Linked DNA regions of Homo sapiens: all the other regions are linked to region 1. The links are contacts of gene promoters, found by promoter capture Hi-C in blood cells and fetal thymus (Javierre and others, 2016). All regions are on one chromosome and are shown on one strand. The core of a region is centred on a gene start or on the middle of the fragment in contact, and the rest is flanking DNA. Distances in the headings are between cores, read along the strand shown. Region 1 holds the start of STMP1 (short transmembrane mitochondrial protein 1). Region 2 overlaps BPGM (bisphosphoglycerate mutase). Region 3 overlaps LOC124901750 (a long non-coding RNA gene).

Region 1 (3,410 bases), core at 115-2,614:
GGTCAGGAGATCGAGACCATCCCGGCCAACGGGGTGAAACCCCGTCTCTACTAAAAATACAAAAATTAACTGGGCCTGCTGGCGCGCACCAGCTACTCGGGAGGCTGAGGCAGGAGAATCGCTTAAACCCAGGAAGCGGAGGCTGCAGTGAGCCGAGATCGCACTACTGCACTCCAGCCTGGCGACAGAGCGGGACTCCGTTAAAACAAACAACAAAAAAAGATACAGCATTTGAGCCGGGAGCAGTGGCTCACGCCTGTAATCCCAGCACTTTCGTAGGCTGAGGTGGGTTGATCACTTGAGGTCAGGAGTTCGAGACCAGCCTGGCCAACTTGGTGAAACCCGTCTCTACTAAAAATACAAAAATTAGCTGAGCATCCTGGTGCGCGCCTGTAATCCCAGCTACTCCGGAGGCCGAGGAGGGAGAATCGGTTGAACCCGGGAGGCGGAGGTTCCAGTGAGCCCAGATTGCGCCACTGCACTCCAGCCTGACGACACAGCGAGACTCCGTCTCAAAAAAAATAAAAAATAAAAAAAAATAGAGGTTGAAAGCATCAAGTTTTGAATGCACAATAGCTTGGCAGAAAAACTTTCACTTGAAAATTTGATGAGCAACTCCTGGAACCTTCACCAAGCAATTTTTGAAATATACCGAGTTTTGCCAGAAAACTCGTTTTTAACTCAAATAAGGAGCCAAGAGAAATAGTCTGCTTACTCATGCTTACACATTTTGGGAAAAATTACTTGTATACCAGTGTCTGACTCATTCCTCCAACTCTGAAAGGTCTGATGAGGACTTAGCCTCTCGGACTTCGTGAGGTGGCTAATTTACGGTTTATTCCTGGCCTTCCTACCTCCTCAGAAAAGCCAACTAGCAGGGCTCCACAGCAGGGACCGGCCGGCGACCATGTAATGGAACAGGAGCGCAGAAAGAAAGGGGGGCGGACTACGAAAAGTCATCAAGGACCACACAAGCTTTAATACAAAGATTGCACAATGAGCGCGGGGCGCGGCACACAATAAGAAGCTCTGGAAACGCACACTCTCTGACACCTCAAAGTTTTAGGGACTTGGATGGCTGCAGAAAAATATTGGCAAAGGGATTTTCTGGGGAGGCAGGAAGAAAACGGCCGCCCTGCGAGGCGACGACCAGGCGCGGGGGACGAAGGGACCGCTGGACCCACGCCCAGGCCGGGTCGGCGGGGTCGGCAATCCTCAAGGGGGAAATGGGGTCCGAGGCACGCCCCAGGCAGCGGGCCCCGCTCTTCGGCAGCTCCACTCACCAGGAACTGGAGCATGATGTCGGTGGGGAGGGCGAGGAGGGCGCGAAGGACTGCAGCAGCTCCGCGGGCCGGTCCGAGCCTACCTCCCCATGCGCGGGGGGGGCGGAACCCCTCGTCGACTTCCGGGTCACGCCACGCCCCGCCCCGCTCCTCCCACTCAGCCCGCGCCCGGAAACGACTTGCAGTGTCGCAGCGCCCAGGTTCCCCCTGGCGGAGCGCGTTGGCCTCACCGCCTGAACCGGCGGGGCAGCGAGCGCGCGACAGGACTTGCGAAGAGCAAGTCCCGAGCCTGGCTGGGCATCCTTGAGCATCCCGCCTCTGTAAACCTGGGCCGAGGCCCAGGAATCTATATTATTCTCAGCACGCGGACTATTCTGATACACAGCCCAGTTTAGGGCTCTCTAACCTAGAAGGACGGCATGAGCAGCGGGTCCCATCCCTAGGTTCGCAGCTGAATCGTGGGGGCTTTTGCAGCATCCTCTACTTGGGCCCAGCTGGACTTTGCGGGGAGGAAAGGAGGCTTGTAGCTCTCAAAGCTCCGCAGGTGTGCTGTGTAATCAGCGTTGTGTAATCAGGTGTTGTGTAATCAAGGTAGAGGCTGGGTACCGTATGGGGCCCATGCTGCCGTGTGCCGCACGCCAGTCACTGAGATGATGAGTTTTGTAGCAGAGAAAAGGTTTATTCACCAGGCAGCCAGCCGAGGAGACGGGAGAACAGATCTCAAATCTGCCTCCCCAAAGATGGGTTTTAGGGATATTTATGGGATAGAGGAGCAGGGTGGTCTGAGGTGTGGGGAAAGGCGGTTGAAGGTAAGGAAAAGTTTGGCAATGGGTTATCTGCGCGAGGTAGTCAAGCTTCATGGCTCTTTATAGGATACATGGTCACAAAATGACATCCTTAGCATGATCTGAGTGTGGAGGTTTTGGCCCTCTAATGTCAGAAGGACACCCATCGGGCTTTCATGCAGGCCCAGTTGAGAGGTTGGTGGTTTAAACTGTACAAGAACTGACCCCAACTTCCTGAAAAACAAGAAACCTTTATCAAGCAACCCAGATGTCAGAGATGTTATCCATAAGGAAGATAGTGGGAGCTTAGATATATATTGTTTAGCTCTGTGACTTTAGCTATGTGGGTTTTTTAATCCACTAAAAGCAGGTGACTAAAAACAAGTGAGAGAAGTTGCATTTGGCAGGCCTCATCAGGTTGGCTCTCAGTTTCACTGGCCTAGCTGGGTTTCTTGCCTGGGATGGCCATAGGTCCTGTTGACAATTTGTATCATCGCCACAAAGAGTCTGTTCTGTCAGTCTTCCGGTCTGTGTATGTGTGTGTTTTTTTCTCTCTTTCTCTTTTAAAGAATTTATTTTAAGCCTATTATACCACACAGTATGTTTTAAACACTAACTCCCTAATAAGATATATAACTCCCTAATAAGATAAAGCAAAGACAAAAAAAGTTCATCTTATTAGAAACAAGATACACCATCCCTTATTGTCTTCAAAAATTATTGCACTTTAATTTTCATAATTTGACAAAGCATTCATGAAACAATCTGCAGACTAGTTTTAACAGACAAATAACACCTGTAAGCAGACATGACTGTCCTAAATTATTAGGTACGAATTTTACAAACTTTTTTTTTTTTTTGAGACGGAGTCTCGCTCTGTCACCCAGGCTGGAGTGCAGTGGCGCAGTCTCGGCTCACTGCAAGCTCCGCCTCCCGGGTTCACGCCATTCTCCTGCCTCAGCCTCCCGAGTAGCTGGGACTACAGGCGCCCGCCACCACGCCCGGCTAATTTTCTGTATTTTTAGTAGAGACGAGGTTTCAACGTGTTAGCCAGGATGGTCTCGATCTCCTGACCTTGTGATCCGCCCGCCTCGGCCTCCCAAAGTGCTGGGATTACAGGCGTGAGCCACCACGCCTGGCCCAAACTTTACTTATATTAGTGGTAACGGTGGAGCTGGAGAGTATCACGCCTTCTCCAAGCTGCCCAGCAAGAACCATCAATAGTGTGGTGGAACTTATGGCACTTTCCAAGGCCACAGCTCCTTTGGCCTGCAGATGTCAGCCCACACATCTCCCTCTGCTTGTGGACTGGTTTGGTGATCGACTGGGTGTCAGGATTTCT
Region 2 (3,645 bases), core at 1,132-3,631, 1.0 Mb after region 1:
GCTTCAGAGCCCCTCACCTGTGAGAAACCAGGTGATGAACACACACACACACACACACACACACACACACACACACACGGAGGGGTGTGTGTAAGTGTGTTAATTTGCAAATGGAAGATATTTTTGCAGTGTTTCTTTACAAAGCCCCAATCCACCAAGTAGTAGAAGCCTCAGCTCCATCAAAAACTGTATCTACCCTTTGTAACCATTGATCATTTTGTTTTGTTATTGGTAGTGGAGGAGGGGGATGGAGAAAAAAGAAGCTATCAACTGTTCCTCTACCTTCACCCTCAGTTTATCTTGTCAAGTGAGAAACCTCCATAAGCTAATGAAGCCATTCTCTCTTCAGTTAAAGAAGGGCATGGTTAGACAAATTTTGTAGACAGAAGCACCTTTCCACCATCTTTTGATTATAAACTATATCAAGGGGACAAAACAATGTAGTAATAGCAACATGGACACTCAGGCACCCACCACCAAGCTTTGTGGTATCTTATTCTCCTATATTTGCTTACTGCATTAAAACAAAGTTCTGTTTTCTTTTTACTAAAAAAAAAATACACACACACACACACCAGAACAGAGGAACAGTACTGCAGTCACAAAAACTATGCAAATATGCATCCTTCCCTCACTCTGAAGCACAGGAATACATTTACGCAGGTGAATACATGATAAAGTACTAAACTAGTATGTCTATCTCAAGAAAACAAAAGGTCACTTTCCTCTCTCCTCCCTAGTACTATCAACGGACTTTTCCCACTTAACTGCTGGATACTTACAAAGAAACTGCTGAGGATTAGCTTGCAAACATAGAAACTTCAGTCAACATCCACAGGAGCTGATTTACCCAGTGTTTACCAAGAAACACACAACGCTGTAGCCAGTGTGATTTAAAGTTTAAGGCATGGATTGCAAACTCAAATGCCTGCAATGGGCAGGCAGCTGTGTGAAGCAGAGTGCAGCTGGACTATGCAGAGTGATGGGCACAGTGACCTGCAAGGACCATGCATGCTTCTTTGAAGGAGGCAACTCTTGTGTAAACAGAAAGTTTTCCGATAACCTCATCTCACTGAGCCAACAGCACTGTTCTTAGAACTTTTCTGGAAAACAAAAAGAAGATGGGATTGCTGACATCGAAGACTAGGATGAATGCAAGACTTAGAGTCAGACCACAGAGAAACTTTGAGTAAATAAATGTCTTTTTTAAAAAAGCTAAAACAATCATTTCAAAACCTCCTAAAAATTCATGTAAAAAATCAAAGGAGTACCTACTACTTAGCTCCAGCCCATTGCCCTGTGATACTGAGCAACTGAGGTTTCTAGATCTTCCAATTAAAAAAAAAATGAAAACGTGTATTTTTATCTGATATCTGATTTAAATATTAGCAACTAATGTATATTTGTAAAATGTGAGTGAAACAAAACATTTCTTCTGCAGGCTAGATCGTGGCTGCTAGCTTATGACCTCTGACTTAAAGGGAAACCTCCCCTAGGCCACAGATAAATGGTACAGCCACTATACCCCAGGAGACGGTCAGAACCCAAGCGTCTGGACCACTTAACCAGCTTTCCTGTTATTGCCCAACACAGCCTTTCAAAGGACAGACCCTCTAATCCCCATAATGCTCTGGGCTTCCTTCTCCCTGACCCACCTTTACAGCCCTCCCTCACCAAACCATTTGCTGGTGCCCTGCAGAATTCCTAGCTCTGTCCTCAAACTCCCACTCAGCTTTGAGTGTCAATTGCACTGAAAAAGATCTGAACTGAAAACGACCTCTTCCCAGGTGACACTGCTTCTCTCTCTAGTGGGGGGTGCTCATGCCTCATACCCTAGGGTTAGGTTCAGGTGATGGGCAGCGTCCTGCTTCCTCCACTGACCAAATCGCCCCTCCCCCACCATCCTAGGGAGTTGGGGAGCTTCAATGTTGAAAGTCTTGCTATATTCAGTTGAAGTTCTCTTGCCCTCATTTATTAACTGCAAACTAACAATTAAACTCCTTGAAAATTGAGTATCTTATTTTAAAACCTCAATTCTTCCTACTGGTCTTAGAAAATGTTCAGAATCCTTCATGTGACCTGCAAGGCTTTCGTTTTATTTCCTTGAGCATGTCAGGTTCTTTCTTGCCTCAGTAGTTTTGCACACACTGTACCCTATGCAGAACACTCACCCTTCATCTCTTCTCTCCATTGCCACTTCAGTCTCACCCTGCTTTAGGTTAAGCTCTAGTCATCCTTTAGATCAGTTGTGTCCAATCAAGATATAATGCGAGGCACAATGAAGTTTTAAATTTTCTACAAGCCACATGAATCCTATAGGTCCAAAAGCTATCATTCAGACATGGAGTCAAAGGAGATCATTTTGGAACTTTAAGGTGTAACAACTGCTCTATTGGATTTTGGACTTGCATGGGGCCTGCTGTAGCCCCTTTGTTTTGGCCAATTTCTCCCATTTGGAACAGGTATATTTACCCAATGCCTGTAGCCCCACTGTATCTAGGAAGTAACTAACTTGCTTTCAATTTTCTAGGCTCATAGGCAGAGAGGGCTTGCCTCGTCTCAGATGAGACTTTGGATTTGGACTTTTGGGTTGATGCTGAAATGAGCTAAGACTTTGGGCGACTGTTGGAAAGGGCATGATTATGTTTTGAAATGAGAGGACATGAGATTTGGGAGGGGCCAAGACCAAATTTCATCTTGAATTGTAGTTCCCATAATCCCCATGTGTCATGGGAGGGACCCAGTGGGAGGTAATTGATTCATGGGGACAGTTACCCTCATGCTGTTCTTATGATAGAAAGTGAGTTCTCACGAGGTCTGATGGTTTTATAAGGAGCTTTGCCCCCACTTCACTTATACTTCTCCTTGCTGCCACCATGTGAAGAAGGACATGTTTGCTTCCCTTCCACCATGATTGTAAGTTTCCTGAGGCCTCTCCAGCCATGCTGAACTGTGAATCATTTAAACCTCTTTCCTTTATAAAATTACCCAGTCTCTGATATGTCTTTATTAGCAGCATGAGAACTAATACAATTCTAACACATGATCCATACAAAAATTATTAATAAGGCAATTTACATTCTTTTTTTTCACAGTATGTCTTTGGAATCTGGTGTGTACTTTATAATGAAAGCATATCTCAATGTGAACCAGCCACATTTCAAGTGCTCCATAGCCACATGTGACCAGTGGCTACCGCACTAGATCATGCAGCTTTAGAGCTCAGCTTAAATGTTAGTTCCTGTAGGCCAGTGGTTCTCAAACTTTAATGTATATCAAAATCAAATTAAACAGATTGCTTGGGCCCACTTCCAGAGCTTGATTTAGTAGGTCTGGGGTGGGACTGTGAATATGCATTTCTAGCAAGTCCTCAGGTGATGGTGACATGGCTGGTCCAAGGACCATGTTTTGAGAACCCCTGGCTTTAGACTTCCTCTTCACCCATTGGGAAGTAGGTCAGGCCTGCTGACCTACTCCTGTAGCATCCCGCTTAACCACATTTGGTGCACTTGCGATGGATCCCTTGAGATATATTACCTGTTCAATGGCTATGTGCCCTGTAAGACTGTAAGCTGCATCAAGGCAGGTCTTACTGCTGTATCTCTAGAACCTAGCACATCGCTTGGCACATATGAGGCACTCAGT
Region 3 (3,883 bases), core at 1,193-3,692, 1.0 Mb after region 1:
AAACAGATGTAACACGCAACTGGGAGGCCTTCCTAGGGCAGTGAAAGGCTGGTCCTAGCAGATAAGGTTCCAGGGGCTGCACTAGGTAGAGAAAGGCATATGATTACTTAGTCAAAACAAGTGCCAGGCCACAGATGCTAGTCAGCTGAGATGACATGAAGCCTAATGGGTCTGAAAAATAGAGAGGGGAAAACTTTTTAAGAAATCTAAAACAGTATAAAAATCACAACGGAGAGTAAAGGCTATCTATTTAAAGATGAAATCATCTTAAACCTCTAAACTAAGCCCGTCTATGTAAAATACTTTTTCTTTGGGTGTAAGCATTTTGGAGGCTACCTGAGATTCTAAGGGGCACCCTTTTTAAAAATGTTCTCTACTGGCTTTGAGAGCTGTTGTTTCTATAGCAACTTATAGTTGTTATTTTATGTCTAGAGAGATGCTACTTTTTTCCTAAAGAGCTATGATTCCAACATGAGTGAGACAAAGTTCTTTATGTTTCTCATTTAAGTACTCACAGAATCCTTATAAAATAAAATCCTTATAAAATAAATTTAATAAAATTTATTTTTATAATAAAATTTAAAAATATAAAATTAAAATAAAAATATAAAATTTAAAAATAATAAAATGTAAGAAATAGCTTGACTGGCTTCATTTATTAGTAACTTTTGAAATAAGGAATGAAGAGAGTAAATAATTAATTGTTTATATCATCAGTCAGTACCAACCACTAAATTCCAGTCTCTGCCAGGTGAGTGTCCTAACTAGTTTCTGATGTTGTCACTCTGTGAGGTATCAGATAAGAGGAATAGGTAAATTGCTGTTTGCAACCAGAAGATGTAAAAATCAGATAGGGAAGAAAAATCACTCTCATATGATGTTCTCTTTACTAAGTTACGACTTATAAAGTGAGTAATGGCAAAGGCTTCAAAGCTTGGTAATTCGAAGTAAGATGATGTTTAGATTGCTAGGATCCTGGATCACTATCACAGCCGAAACAAAGAAGGAACTGCAGTGCCAAATGACATACATGTCTTCACCATCAGAATACCAACAAGTGTATAAAGGCCTGGCATTGATATATTGCTAGAGTTTCCCTTCTGTAGATAATTGTTTTTATGCACAGCAGGAAAGGACCTGTGTTCTCAGCTCCAAACCCAGCTATATTCAGTAAAACAAGAATAGACCAACCTCTAACAAAATATTATGGAAAATGCTTTCATTTCTTTTCTTCTGAAAAAAGGTAACTATAGCATATTCTCTTCTCCTAAACTCATCTATTTCCTTATGCTTTGCTGCATCTCTGCCCTCTCTAAAAATGGGAGAAAAAGGAGAAAAAAAAAGGATAAAGAAGAAGAATAAGTAAAGTCTTCAGAAGTGTACAGGTTCTGGTCTCAACTAGCAAATCAATAAGTAACCAATTATTCATTGAATTCCTCCTAATGTTCAAGAACTTGTGTTAGGAATTTTGAAGGAAATGAATTAGTATTTTTCGTGCCTACTATAAACAAGTCACTGTGCCAAGTACAAGAGATATATAAATAAATTAAACATCCTCCTTGTCCTCAAGGTCCAGTAGGGGAAAGACTAACTCAAGTGTTTGTTACAGTCCAACAAATACAAGTGCAAGTAGAATGAGTAAGGGCTCACAGAGTATTTTGGGGTGGAAAGGGAGAGCGTAAGTGCAGGGTTGTAATAAGTTTAGATATTTGATGGAAGAGGTGAATTCTGAGCAATGTTTAAATATGCACAGAATTTCCAGTCAGAATTGCATAGTAGGTTTCCACTGTAAACATCCAGCAGTATTAAATAACATAAAAAGAAAATGCCCAAAATATATTCTAGGGTTCGAAAACAGTATAAACATTTCCGTGGACCAAAGACAGAATAGAAACACAGAGCCAAAGCCCTGATGTGCTCTGAGAGCAAAGGCCGCTGTAGAGGATGCTATTTCCACTCCTCCCAGGTAGCACGGTCTAGCATGTACTACACTAGAAGGTGGTTGCTTAAGGGGTGGGGCTTCCTGTTTTGAAAGAGGTTGGGAATCCTGAACTGCTGCCATTGCTGCCTGGGGCAACGGCATATCTCAACCAGCAACAGAAGAAGAACTCAAGGACATTAGATGCAGTCTTTCCACTGGAAACTGGCCTGGAAGAAACAGTGGAGAGACTGAAGATACTGGAGATGAAGTGCTGGAAACCTGGTGGGGTCAGAGGAGCAGGGAAAGCACAGTCTTTGAGCTCATTCTTCTAAAGTGGCCCTTTCTTGGATCACATTTTAAAAGAAATACATTGACATAGGTTTAAAGACTCTGATAATGGAAATTAGAGGGAGCGGTATGAAAGGAACTCTGTGACCATGGAGAATTAGTCAATGTGAAGATTCCTCCCAACTAGCAGTATAGACTTCCTTGCCTGGCCCCACCCCCAGACTAAATCCTTGTGTTATACCCTCCATGTGTCATTTACAGAAAGAGGTGGGATTGGAGCACAGTAACTACTCTGCTGATTTCCCAATACTGGCTAATTTTTGAAATTGTCTATCCATTCTTTCTTGGAAGAGAGGCACGTTTTTTTCGGCTCAAATACCCTCATTTGTTGCTTAGAAAATACCATCTATCAGCTGGGTGTGGTGGCTCATTCCTGTAATCCCAGCACTTTGGGAGGCTGAGGTGGATTGATCGCAAGGTCAGGAGTTTAAGACCAGCCTGGCCAACATGGTGAAACCCTGCCTCTATCAAAAATACAAAAAAAAAAAAAAAAAAAAAAAAAGAAAAGAAAAAAAAATTAGCCGGGCATGGTGGCATTCACCTATAATCCGAATTATTCAGGAGGCTGAGGCAGGAGAATAGCTTGAACCTGGGAGGTGGAGGTTGCAGTGAGCTGAGATCATGCCACTGCACTTCTGCCTGGGCCACAGAGCGAGACTCCATCTAAAAAAAAAAAAGAAAAGAAAATACCATCTATCGCTACAGACACAGGTAAGAGAAATGAATGTAGCCTTGAAAAGGAAGTGAAAGAAGGCCTGAATGATAGAAATGTGGTCTGGGCTTTTCTTAATTGTTGTCCAAGGGGGCACCTTCCTAGGACCCAAAGAAGTTTAAAACAAAATGTGGGCAATGAGGCCTGGAAAACCATTGAGGTGACACTAGCTTTGGTAAACTCACTATGTGTAAGGTTTCCCACTCAATTTTGTAGACTCAGAAGCTCAGCCCACCATTTTATAAGCTATAAAAGATAATGATTCTATTGTTTCCAAGGTTTTTATGATGTATCTCCTTGTTTTTTCATGCACCACCAAATATAAACTCACTATTCCAATCACTGTAAATTTTGAAACTATTACTAAAAAGTGGCTTGGTGCCCAGCAATTATCTCCCAGCAATCTCTAATCAACCATTCTTATAAGTTACTGTCATTGAACCAAATGGAAATATTTAATTCAGTTTAATATCTGTACAGATACCCCATTTTATTGCTCTTCACTTTACTTCATGCTGCAGATACTGCATTTTTCACAAATTGAAGGTTTGTAGCAGCCCTTTGTCAAGCAAGTCCATTGGCGCCATTTTTTTCCAACAGCATCTGCTCACTTTGTATCTCTTCCACATTTTGATAATTCTCAGGACATTTCAAACTTTTTCATTATTATATATGTTATGGCGATCTGTGATGAGTTGTCTTTAATGTTACTATTGTATTGCTTTGGTGTGCAATGAACTACACCCATATACTACATCAAAGTTAATTGATAAATGTGTGTGTTCTGACTGCTTGACTGACCAGCCATTCCCCCATCTCTCCCCATTTCCTCGGGCCTACTTATTCTCTGAGACACAACAACATTGGAATTAGGCCAATTAATAGTCCTACAGTGACCTGTA

The links. The method cuts DNA at HindIII sites, captures the fragments that hold promoters and counts their contacts. A CHiCAGO score of 5 or more calls a contact.
Region 2: a fragment that was not itself captured here is called in contact with the fragment with the promoter of STMP1 in region 1 in 1 of 17 cell types (neutrophils); the score reaches 8.5 in neutrophils.
Region 3: a fragment that was not itself captured here is called in contact with the fragment with the promoter of STMP1 in region 1 in 1 of 17 cell types (erythroblasts); the score reaches 5.2 in erythroblasts.

What each region holds. Positions count from the first base shown.
Region 1 is chr7:135,660,468-135,663,877 of GRCh38, reverse strand. STMP1 (short transmembrane mitochondrial protein 1) reads right to left here and starts at 1,364. Exons shown (of 3, transcript NM_001130929.2): 1 at 1,284-1,364. The coding sequence starts at 1,298. It also overlaps the pseudogene RPL15P11. RefSeq lists enhancers at 1-105, 106-630 and a silencer at 1,270-1,489. The HindIII fragment of the contact is 1,162 bases long and covers 978-2,139 here.
Region 2 is chr7:134,655,806-134,659,450 of GRCh38, reverse strand. All of the region lies in intron 1 of BPGM (bisphosphoglycerate mutase), which reads right to left. The region is part of intron 1 of LOC124901750 (a long non-coding RNA gene); the gene reads left to right. Among named protein-coding and RNA genes, the nearest start is that of BPGM, 11 kb to the right of the region's middle. The HindIII fragment of the contact is 3,796 bases long and covers 484-3,645 here.
Region 3 is chr7:134,636,272-134,640,154 of GRCh38, reverse strand. The region is part of intron 1 of LOC124901750 (a long non-coding RNA gene); the gene reads left to right. Among named protein-coding and RNA genes, the nearest start is that of BPGM, 8.6 kb to the left of the region's middle. RefSeq lists a cis regulatory region at 1-289. The HindIII fragment of the contact is 3,013 bases long and covers 936-3,883 here.